2 separate regions of the Homo sapiens genome follow, and region 2 is linked to region 1. Evidence: promoter capture Hi-C in 16 types of primary human blood cells and fetal thymus (Javierre and others, 2016). All regions are on one chromosome and are shown on one strand. Each heading gives the region's core, a stretch centred on a gene start or on the middle of the fragment in contact. The rest is flanking DNA. Distances are from core to core; before and after follow the strand shown. Region 1 holds the start of SMPD3 (sphingomyelin phosphodiesterase 3). Region 2 has its middle 19 kb from the start of ZFP90.

Region 1 (5,854 bases), core at 3,106-5,605:
TAATAACTCTGTGATGAGCTACTTAAAAAAGATGGGAAACTTGATGAACTATTAATATTTAAAGAACAAACAAATAAATAAATATAAAACTATCTCTCAGATCTACCCCCTCTTTTCCACTCACCATGCTGGATCACCGCAGCACCTTCCCGATCCACATCCCAGCCTCATCTTCTCCTGGCCATTCTCCAAGCAGCCCCTAGACCTTTTCAAAATGCACATCTCCCTAAAAACCTTCATTAGCTTTAGAATAAAATTATATTCTCAGCCTAGAATACCAAGCTCTTCAGGACCCAGCCCTGGTCAATCACTCTAACCCCTCAGTGTCTGAGATTCAGCATTCTAGTTAATCTCCTCTTTACTTACTGAGAAGACCCATGGAACTTCACTGAGATCTTTTCTTCCCCAAGAAGAAGGGAGAAGGCCAGCACTGTGTTCCCCTGGAATCTTTCACTACTCTAGCTTCGAAGTATTTAGAATTCCATTCATTCCTTTAGGGTTCTGTGCCCTAAAACCACCCCTTAAAAATGACAAAACAAATATATTGAGCATTTTCTCATATGAGTCAGGCCTTTTATCACATTTAACCCTCACAATTCTGAAGAACACATTTTAATTTCACAAATGAGAAAACTGAGACCCAGAACAATTAAATATTAAATAACCTAATCAAAGTCATACAATTAGTAAGAGAGAGAAAGGGGATTCAAACTCAGATTACCCAAGAAATTATCTCCTGTTTATTCATGGTCAAACCAATTTCTGGTAATCCAAGAAGAATAATGTGAAAACAGACTAACATTTGGTAAGTGCTTAATATTTATAAAGTACTTTACATAAGGAATCTCATTTATCCCTTATGACATTTTCAAATAAACAGACTGCAAATCCAAGGAGGTAGTTTAGGCAAGGTCACACAGCTAGTAAGTAGCTTTGAATTTCCCTACCTCCACCCTTAAAAAAAATTTCTTTTTTTTTAGAGACAGGTCTTGCTCTGTCACTCAGGCTACTAGAATGCAGTGGTGTGATTGATCATAGTTCACTGCAGCCTCAAACTCCTGGGCTCAAGCAACCCTCCCACCCCAACCTCCTGAGTAGCTGGGACTACAGGCATGCGCCACTGCACTGAGTTATTTTTTTTTTTTTTAATTTTTAGTACAGGCAGAGTCTCACTATGTAGCCCAAGCTGGTCTCAAATCCCTGGCCTCCAGCAATCCTCCTGCCTTGGCCTGTCAAACTGCTGAGATTACATGTGTGAGCCACTACACCCAGCCCCACCTCCAGCCTTATTAGCTGCTACCTAACACCAATAAACAGCATTTTACAACTGAAAAAACAGCTCCAGCCCAGGATCACACATCTAATCAGAGGCAAAGTCAGGATTAGGATCCAGGTTTCCTAACTCTACTTGGCTGTGCAGATGCTGTTATAGTCTCTGGGTGCTGCCAGAATTGTGGAACCCTGACTTTTTCCTATTTATAACAATTTGCCAAAACTGAAATTGGATTCCAGTGGTAGATGGATGGTGGTACACTACTTCTGAAGGGGTAAACGGACCTCCACAGGGTTTCAGCTCTGGCTTCAGGTGGACTTATTTGGTATCCCTCTGCAATACTCGGGTGATACTCTGCTGATGCCCACCTGGTGGCATGGTCCTCCCTGATCCACTTTTCCAACAGCCTCTGCTCTCACTGCATCCACTGAATGAGGCACTCTGCTTTAGCACACGTCCCATTTCCCCCTGCCTCCTTACCGTTTTCTCTTCAGTAATAAGACCCCATCTGTTCACCCAGCTCCAATTGCCTTCCCTGATGGTTTAGCCAGGATCAAAGCCCCTCTGCCATGCCTCTTAAAGTCCTGTTGGTTCTTCCCTAAATGCCATCTGTTTTACTCACTCCCCCACCCTAGCCTTCCCTTCCTGGATGTTACTAACTCAAGGATGACAGAGCTGCTTTCTCTCAGGCTCTGTCTCTTTGGTTTGAATTAGGTCCAGAGTAAAAGTCCCCTTGGTTATTTCCTTCTTGGCCATGAGTTAATTATTCCCATATATTAAGGCATTCTCCCCAGAGTGTATCAGCTGACATACACAAAAAAACATCTGGAGAAGGTGATAAAATGAAATGTGTAGATTAACTAGGCCATCTAGCCAACATCAGAATGTTTAGTGGAGAAATATTCAGGAAAGATGCTACCTAGCAAGGTGGGACATCACCAATGAGGCCTAAGATGCTGAGCAGAGGGTTGAAAGAAGAGCAGGAGGCCGGGCACAGTGGCTCACACCTGTAATGCCAGCACTTGGGGAGACCAAGGTGGGCCTAGGTGGCAGAGGCTGCAGTGAGCTGAGATCGCGCCATTGCACTCCAGCCATTGCACTCCAGGCAACAAGAGCGAAACTCCGTCGAAAAAAAAAAAAAAGAGAGAGAAAGAAAGAAAGAAAAAAGAAAGAGCAGGAATCTTAGGACATCTTTACTTCATAACTGACAGGGCAGAAGATCTTTCTCAGAAAAGGAGTGGGAGGTAGGGCATTTAGGCACAGAAACGAGTAGGGCCAACAGCTAGAAATAGCGGAACATGAAGAACTGATGACATTTCAGGGAGAACTGACAGGAATAATAGGCATGGGTCTATCAATCTCTAGCATCATAGGATTAAAAGGGTACTCAAAGCATTCAGGTAAAATCCCAACCCACTGTACAAATGAAATAAACATTTCTTCAAGGGGGCGGCATGCCTCTAACTGAACACCTCCAGCAATGAGAAATGCCCAACTTTAGGAAATCAGAGTTTTGGAGGTGTATGTGAATGAGGTTCCTTTATTTTCTTTTTTTTAATTTTATTCTTTTTCTCTTTTTTTTTTTTTTTTTTTGAGACAGGGTCTCACTCTGTTGTCCAGGCTGGAGTGTAGTGGTGCAATCTCGACTCACTGCAACCTCCACCTCCCGGGGTTCAAGCGATTCTCCCGCCTCAGCCTCCTGAATAGCTGGGATTACAGGCACGTGCCACCACGCCCAGCTAATTTTTGTATTTTTAGTAGAGACTGGGTTTCACCATTTTGGTCAGACTTGTCTCGAACTCCTGACCTAGTGATCCACCTGCCTCGGCCTCCCAAAGTTCTGGGATTACAGGCGTGAGCCACCACGCCCGGCCCAATTCATTTTCAATTCAACAAATATCTATATTTATATCTCAATAGCTAGTGAGTGCCTACTACGTGCCAGATACTAGACACTGGACTGTAAGTATGAATAATATAGACATGGCCCCTCCCCTGTGGATCTTATAATGAGGAAGACGAGCACATAAACATGCAAGTAGAACAGGGGAAGTAGAGGGTGCTGCTCAAACACAGGGTGGGGCACTCAACAGACAGCCCAGCATCTAGATGTCTTCACAAAACAGGCAATGTCTAGGCTGGGGCTTGCCGACGAGTTAGCTGAGGGCAGGGTGGAGAGGCCCAAGGGAGTAGGAGGCTTCCCAGCTTCCAAAGAAGTTAAGAGTGTTGCAAAAAAGTGGAGTCCAGATCTTGAAGGGGAGAGTGGGCTTAGGTCCGGGGGCATGTGAAGCGCCCTCCGTCTGCTGCGCTGGGGGAGATGCTGCGGTATCCTGGAGTGGTGTGAAGGAGGCCAGGACCTGCGATGGGAAGACGGAGACGGGAAGGCCCTGGTGGCCCAAGGGATGACCAAAAGTGAAGCGCTCCTCTATGACAAGATTGAGACAAAAATAAAGGAATAAAGTTCTGAATGCGGTGGGAGAGTCTCCTCCGTCCTCCCTCACCTTTGCTGGGCAGGAACCAAACCTGCTTGCCCTCGGTTTGCCCCATCACCGACGGGTGTGGTCGGGGGCACAGCTCTTCGCCCTTCTTCTCAGATAGGAAAACTGAGGCCCAGGGTCCTGAGGCAGAAATCAAGGTTTTCTCCTCGAAATGGCCTCCCAAGAGGCTGCCCGGGGTCTCACACGATCCTTCGAGGGTCCTGCGGCCTGCCCCACGCCTCCGCCAGCCATCCTCGGCTGGTCGTCTTTGCTATGGAAACGGTCCTCCCGCCCTGCTCCGCGCCTCCGTGTCTTCAGTGCACTCTGGGAAATGCAGTCCCGCTCTGTTTGCCTACCCGCGGCGTGAGCCCACTCCGCGTCCTTAAAGAACTATAAGTCCCAGAAGGCTGTGCGAAACTCCGCCGGTCTCTGGGGGATGTGGTCTTGAAGGAGAGACCCAGGAACCTGCGGGCGGGGCCGGAGGGAGAGGGGAGGACGCCCCCAATGGGCAGACTCCTGGGCGGGGTCCGGGTCACCATTGGCTCCGGCGGCGCGAGGGAGGCGGGGTCAGAGGAATGAAGCGCGGAGCTGTTCGCCGCTCCAGGTGCTGAGTCTGAGGGAGGCTCCGGACCCGAGAGCCGCGAGAGCCGCCGCCGCTGCGGCCGCCGCCAGATCTGCGGCCGGGAGCCCGGGCTGTGAGGAGCCGGGAGGAGCGGGGTGCGCTGCCGGGCGCTGACCGCCCTCCCGCCCGCCGTCAGAGGTCAGTGCTGCTGAATTCGCTTTTGTTTTCTTGGGGAGCGGGCGAACCGAGGCGTGAGGGGCTGGGGAGTTGACGGGACGTGTTCTCGTTGCTCTCAGGACCGCGGGTCCCGGACAGCCGCCGACTGACTAGGGGCCTCCCGTGGCCGGGCGCCGGAGGTCGGAGCAGCTTGGGTTAGTTTTCGTTTTATCATGGAGAAGGCTCTTGGGTATGAGGGGCGAGGGCTGGGGGTCACCCCCACCCCCCATCTCTCCTGGGAGAGCGAGGAGGCTTGGACCCTCCCTCCCGCTGTGCCTGGCGACGGGGCTGCTCGGATTACTCAGGACGGGAGGATGAGGTGTTGTGGGATGAAGGGACTCGAGGCAGGGGGACCCCTCCCCGCAACACTTCGGCTGCTCGAGGTTACAAAGGAGTCTGGTGGTGATGGATGAGATCGCGGACCGCTCCCCTAGCCCAGACCCTCCCAGGGGTATTCAGGAAGGGCTGCTTGGGATGCAGGGAAGACCCTTGCCCAGGCCCCTTCCTCCACACTCGCCCCCCTCCCTATTCCCCCCTCCTCCCTTGGCCCTAGGGTTTTGTAAAGAGGAGGATCGAGGATGTGGAAGAGACAGAGGACTCTTACCCCTCCCACTTGGACCCTCCTAGGTTACTGGTGAAGGGTGGAATTGGAATGTGGCAGGGAAACGCTGGGAGACCCCTCCCCATCCTTCTCGGAGTCGCGGGTGGAGGAAAGCACTGACACTCGGAATCCCCCGCGCTCGGGCCCGCGCCGAGGGTTGGGTGGCCTGGGTGTGAGAGGTAGTGTAGGGGGATGTACGAGGACAGGAGGGACCCCTCCCCACCTCTCCCCACCTGGGCCTTATCTCCCAGGCCCTCCCTACCTGGATCCAGGCCTGGGGCTCTAAGTCGAGACGACCCGCCCTAGCCCACCACGCCCCGGGGACCGAGCCTCTGGCACCGCAGCTGGGGGCCAATCCCAGATGGGCATGTACAGAGCGGGACGGGGCGGGTCTCCCCTCAAGCACTCAAGAGCTCCAGGTAGACGCTACCCCCAACCTCGTGCCCGCGAATCTTTGGGGGCTGCTCCGCTCCGATGCAGGGCGCACCCCAAACCGAGGCTCGGGGACCTGCTTCCAGGACGCGCGGTGGCTGTTCCAAGGCATGGGGCTTTCGCGCTCGGCCCAGGCATCCTCGAGAGGACAAAGCGGCGGTCGCCGCACTGGCAGGCCTGCGCCGCGGGCTGGGCGGGGGGCGCGGCCGCGGAGGGGGGGCTTCGGGCGCGGCGCGGGCAGCTTCCACGGAAACGTGCCAGGAGCGGGGCGGGAGACAAAGCGCACCGGCTTC
Region 2 (5,374 bases), core at 2,438-4,937, 71 kb before region 1:
GTTTTTGCAGCCAAGCAGAGGACTGTGTTTAGAAACAAAAAAGTGGACAAGGCCGGGCATGGTGGCTCTTGTCTGTAATCCCAGCACTTTGAGAAGCCGAGGCAGGCAGATCGCTTGAGGCCAGGAGTTCGAGACAAGCCTGGCCAACATGGCAAAACCCCAACTCTACTAAAAATATTTTAAAAATAGCCTGGCCCGGTGGCTGTTCGAAATCATGCCACTGCACTCCAGGCCTGGGCAACAGAGCAAGACTCCATCTTAAAAAAAAAAAAAAGAAAGAAAGTGGACAAAATGAGCCAAGGACAGGATAGAGAAGGAGGGCAGAGAAAGAGTGAGGGACTAGAAATTAAACAAATTTGGGCCAGGTGCAGTGGCTCATGCCTGTAATCCCAGCACTTTGGGAGGCTGAGGCGGGCAGATTGCTTGAGCCCAGGAGTTTGAGACCAGCCTGGCCAACATGGCGAAACCCTATCTCTACTAAAACTACAAAAATTAACCGGGCCTCGTGGTATGCACCTGTAGTCCCAGTTACTTGGGAGGCTGAGGCACAAGAATCACTTGGACCCGGGAGGCAGAGGTTGCAGTGAGCCGAGATCGCACCAGTGCACTCCAGCCTGGGCCACAGAGTGAGAACTTGTCTCCAAAAAAAATAAAAAATAAAAAATTAAACAAGATTGTTCTCATGCTATATTTATTGAATTATGTTTGTATCTGAATTTATTTATTTATTTGAGACGGAGTCTTGCTCTGTCGCCAGGCTGGAGTGCAGTGGTGCAATCTGAGCTCACTGCCACCTCCGCCTCCCAGGTTCAATTGATTCCTCTGTCTCAGCCTCCCGAGTAGCTGGCATTACAGGTGCCCACCACCACACCTGGCTAATTTTTGTATTTTTAGTAGAGGTGGGGTTTCACCATGTCGGCCAGGTTGGTCTCAAACTCCTGAACTCAAGTGATCCACCCACCTTGGCCTCCCAAAGCGCTGGGATTACAGGCATGAGCCATGGCACTTGGCCTTGTATCTGAATTTTTAAATAAACTTGCAAATTAATTAACTTGCAAATATTATAGCCGAGATAGTTTTTGTTCATGGCTGATGTCCTCCAACATTACAACCAGATACATGGATCCAAGAACCTGGTCTAGATTGTCCTGAGGCTGGGCCTGCCAGGGGCCCAGTTACAGAGATATTTGACAGCCAAGCAGGTTCTGTCTGTAAGAGGAACTTACCCACTTATGTGCCCACGAACTGTGTGCTGAGTTAACTGAGCTAAGCTTATGACATAAAGGCTTTATTTATTTATTTATTTATTTATTTATTTATTTATTTTGAGATGAAGTTTCACTCTTTCACCCAGGTTGGAGTGCAGTGGCGCAATCTCGGCTCACTGCAACCTCTGCCTTCTGGTTTCAAGTGATTTTCCTGCCTCAGCCTCCCGAGTAGCTGGGATTACAGGTGCCCACCACCACGCCCAGCTAATTTTTGTATTTTTAGTAGAGATGGGGGTTTCACCATGTTGGCCAGGCTGATCTCAAACTCCTGACCTCATGATCCACCCGCCTCGGCCTCCCAAAGTGTAGGACCACAGAGGCTTTGCTTTATTATAAAGAGTAATGGTTTTTGAGAAGAGCTAAGACAGCTCCTTCATTGTATAGATGAAACTAAAGCCCAGAGAAAGACACTAGTTGGAGGAGGAAGAATGTGGTATAGGAAGGAAAAGATGCCTGTCATCTGCTGGAGGGATTCTTAAGTTACATTGTAGCATTATGTCTTCTTAAATTCACCAGGTAAAAGCTTATGCTTAAAACTATTTAAATTCAAAAGTGGTAATTTAAAAAATAGAATGCTGAGTGAAGTGGCTCGAACCTTTAATCCCAGCACTTTGGGAAGCTGAGTCCGGAGGATCACATGAAGTCAGGAGTTCGAGACCAGCCTGGGCAACAAAGCAAGAGCCTGTCTCTACAAAAAATACAAAAATTAGCTGGGCATGGTAGCATGAGCCTGTGGTCTCAGCTACAGGAGGAAGGCTAAGGTGAAAGGACGGCTTGAGCCCAGTAGTTCGAGGTTTGAGGCTGCAGTGAGCTATGATTGCACCACAGCACTCTAGCCTGGGCGACAGAGTGAGACCCTGTCTCAAAATAATAATAATAATAATAATGATGATGATGATAATAAAGTGAACACATTGCTTGACTGGGCTTTGCTCATTTGCTTTGCTTTCTTCCATTCTGTTCCACTTTCTCTTCGCTCTGTTTCCAGGTCTGCTGTTGTGTGATCTCCAAGTGACTTTCCCTCTCTGGGTTGCTATTTCATCTGTACAATGCAGGAGCTGTTTTGGCTGATCCAAAACACCATTTTAATTTTTCCTACCACAACTGCTAAGTCCAGTTCAACCAGTGAAGGTGTGACCTGAGCAGAGGTGAGAAAACACGAAGGTGAAAGTAAGCTGGGTCCTTCATCTCTGCCTGGACCTTGGCCTGGGCTCACGGCCTGCCTGGGGCTGATGGCCACAGACCCCCGCCCCCACCCCAGCGTCTGATACGCCGCGCCTGGGGCGATCTTGGTACCTCCCCGCCACCGCGTGGGGACAACACATTCGCAGCTCCGCGGTTACCAAGGCGACCCAGCTGGTGTATCCTCGGTAGCCCCCTAGCGGACACTTATGGAACCTGCAGTTCTTTCCTTTACCTCGGGCGGCGTATTTCACCTGCAGCCCTGTCCAGAGAGGGGGCGGCTCTCTTACCTGGCCTCTGTATTGCTTCTCTCTACCCTGAGCCTGGCCACCCGCCCCACCTCTCCAGACATTTCGGTTTCTCCTCCAGGGACCAGGCTTCTCTGGCTTTGTCACCCAGGCACAACAGCTCTAATTACCCATCCCTTCCAGCCAGGGTCCTGGGGACTTCAGAAGGGCTGTCACCCACGGCACTTCCAAAGTCCCTCTCGAGAGTGTAAAAGTCTGGCCGGGCGCGGTGGCTCACGCCTGTAATCCCAGCACTTTGGGAGGCCGAGGTGGGTGGATTATCCAGCCTGGCCACCATGGTGAAACCCCGTCTCTACTAAAAATACAAAAATTAGCCGGGCGTAGTGGTGGGCGCTGTAATACCAGTTATTTGGGAGGCTGAGGTGGGTGGATTATCCAGCCTGGCCAACATGATGAAACCCCGTCTCTACTAAAAATGCAAAAATTAGCCAGGCGTAGTGGTGGGCGCTGTAATACCAGTTACTTGGAAGGCTGAGGCAGGAGAATCGCTTGAACCTGGGAGGCGGAGGCTGCAGTGAGCCGAGATCATGCCACTGCACTCCAACCTGGGCGACAGAAAGACTCTGTCTCAAAACAAAAAAAAACAAAGAAGAGAGAGTGCAATTTATTATTATTTTTTTCTGAGACAGAGTCTCGCTCTGTCGCCCAGGCTGGAGTGCAGTGGCACTATCTTGGCTCACTGCAACTTCCGCCTCCCGGGTTCAAGTGATTCTCCTGCCTCAGCCTCCAGAGTAGCTGGGCTACAGGGGTGCACCACCAGGCCTGGCTAATTTTTGTATTTTTAGTAGAGCTGGAGTTTCACCATATTGGCCAGGCTGATCTTGAACTCCTGACCTCAAGTGATCCACCTGCCTCGGCCTCCCAAAGTGCTGGGATTACAGGCGTGAGCCACTGTGCCTGGCAATGAGTGTAAAAATCTTATGTGATGTGGAGTAAAATACCCTTCCCTCGGCCAACCCCCTGTCCACACCCCACCCCCAGCAACCCTTGACTCAGACTCTGGCTTTGGGATCCACTTTTCCTTACAGGCCTCGTGCATCTGTGTGATGGAATCCCATAGGCAGCACAGCCCGGCCGGAATCCAGGGAGCCACTAGTGCATGGGGTGGGGCAGCATCACCAGAACTGGGCATACAGCCTCTGTTGGGAGACAGGCAAGCATACAGACAAGCCAACCCAATACAGGACTGGAGGTGGGCAGTCACAAGGTTGGTGGCGCAGTGTGCTGGGAGCACCACATGGAAGGGGGAGGACCACAGCCTGAGCTGGGCAGAAAGGCTTCCTGGAGGAAGTGATGCTTGAGCCTTGAAGGATGAGTAGGCGCTGGCCTGGGGTAGAGATCTCAGTGATGGCTTGAGGGGTGGGGGAGGACTTCTCTTCAGAGTCTACCTTCCTGAGTGTCACTCCTCATCAGGGCCCCTCCTTGCCCTTTTCCTCTTCTCACCCTGTCCCCATTCCCTGGGCAACCTTCCCCAGCCCAGCAAATGTAACCAGCATCTCCTTGTTACACGTGATCCTTTTCTCCTCGTCACAGGCAGTCCCTGGATGTGCCCTGGACTTGCTTGCCTTCCTGGTGAGTTTATTCATCCTTCAAGACCCAGCTAGAAGGCTGAGCACAGTGGCTTATGCCTGTAATCCCAGCACTTTGGGAGGCTGAGGCGGGTGGATCACTTGAGGTCAGGAGTTTGAGACCAACCTGGCCAACATGGTGAAACCCCGTCTCTACCAAAAATACAAAAATTAGCCAGGTGTGGTGGCGGGTGCTCATAATCCCAGCTACTCGGGAGGCAGAGGCAGGAGAATTGCTTGAACCCAGGAGCCAAGGTTGCAGTGAGCAAGATTGCGCCATAGCACTCCAGCCTGGGCGACACAGCGAGGCTCCGTCTCAAAAAGAAAAAGACCCAGCTAGATGTTCACTCTTTCTGGCACCTTCCCAAAACCACCCTTTCAATCCTGTATTTATTCCACAAACTTCTACTGAACACCAGGTATTAGGCCCAGGATGTGGCCCTACATTGCAACTTTTTTTTTTTTTTTTTTGAGACAGGGCCTCACTCTGTCACTCAGGCTGTGGTGCAGTGGTGAAATCATAACTCACTGCAGCCTTGAATTCCTGGGCTCAACCAATCCTCCTGCCTCAGCCTCCCACGTAGCTAGGACAACAGGCGTGTCCCACTATGCCCGGTTAATTTTTGTATTTTTTATAGAGATGGGATCTTGCTTGTTGCCCAGGCTGGTCTTTAACTGGCCTCATGTCATCCTGTCACACTGGCCTCCCAAAGTGTTGGGATTACAGATATAAGACACCGCACCTGGCCCCTACATTGCAACTTTCTGTTCATCTGTCGGTCTTCCTAGCTGGCCAGGATTTCCTGTGAGCCGGGGGGAAGCTGAGTTGTATATTTTATTAATCCTCAGCCTTTAATATTCATGCCCTGAATGAATGGGTTAATGAATGAATTAATATAAGTACAGCTTCTTGCAAAAAACAAATAAGAAACACCTCAGTTCACAGGGCTGGCACTCTCTGATTTCCAGTTCTGTCCCCTGCCACTCTCTCAAAGGTATTTGGTCATATGTTATTAAATTAAAGTGAATTAAAATTTGCTTGAAATAA

The links. Contacts are between HindIII fragments. The CHiCAGO score rates a contact against its expected background, and 5 or more counts as called.
Region 2: a contact is called between a fragment that was not itself captured here and the fragment with the promoter of SMPD3 in region 1, in 2 of 17 cell types (monocytes and M2 macrophages). The highest score is 6.3, in monocytes.

The regions. Positions count from the first base shown.
Region 1 is chr16:68,447,009-68,452,862 of GRCh38, reverse strand. It overlaps SMPD3 (sphingomyelin phosphodiesterase 3), which reads left to right and starts at 4,355. Exons shown (of 9, transcript NM_018667.4): 1 at 4,355-4,510. It overlaps LOC124903705 (a long non-coding RNA gene), which reads right to left and starts at 4,023. Exons shown (of 2, transcript XR_007065097.1): 1 at 3,797-4,023; 2 at 718-3,698. RefSeq lists an enhancer at 3,988-4,037 and a silencer at 4,138-4,657. The HindIII fragment of the contact is 11,512 bases long and covers 1-5,854 here.
Region 2 is chr16:68,518,066-68,523,439 of GRCh38, reverse strand. No RefSeq gene overlaps it. Among named protein-coding and RNA genes, the nearest start is that of ZFP90, 19 kb to the left of the region's middle. RefSeq lists enhancers at 2,326-2,375, 2,416-2,465, 2,486-2,565. The HindIII fragment of the contact is 3,788 bases long and covers 1,794-5,374 here.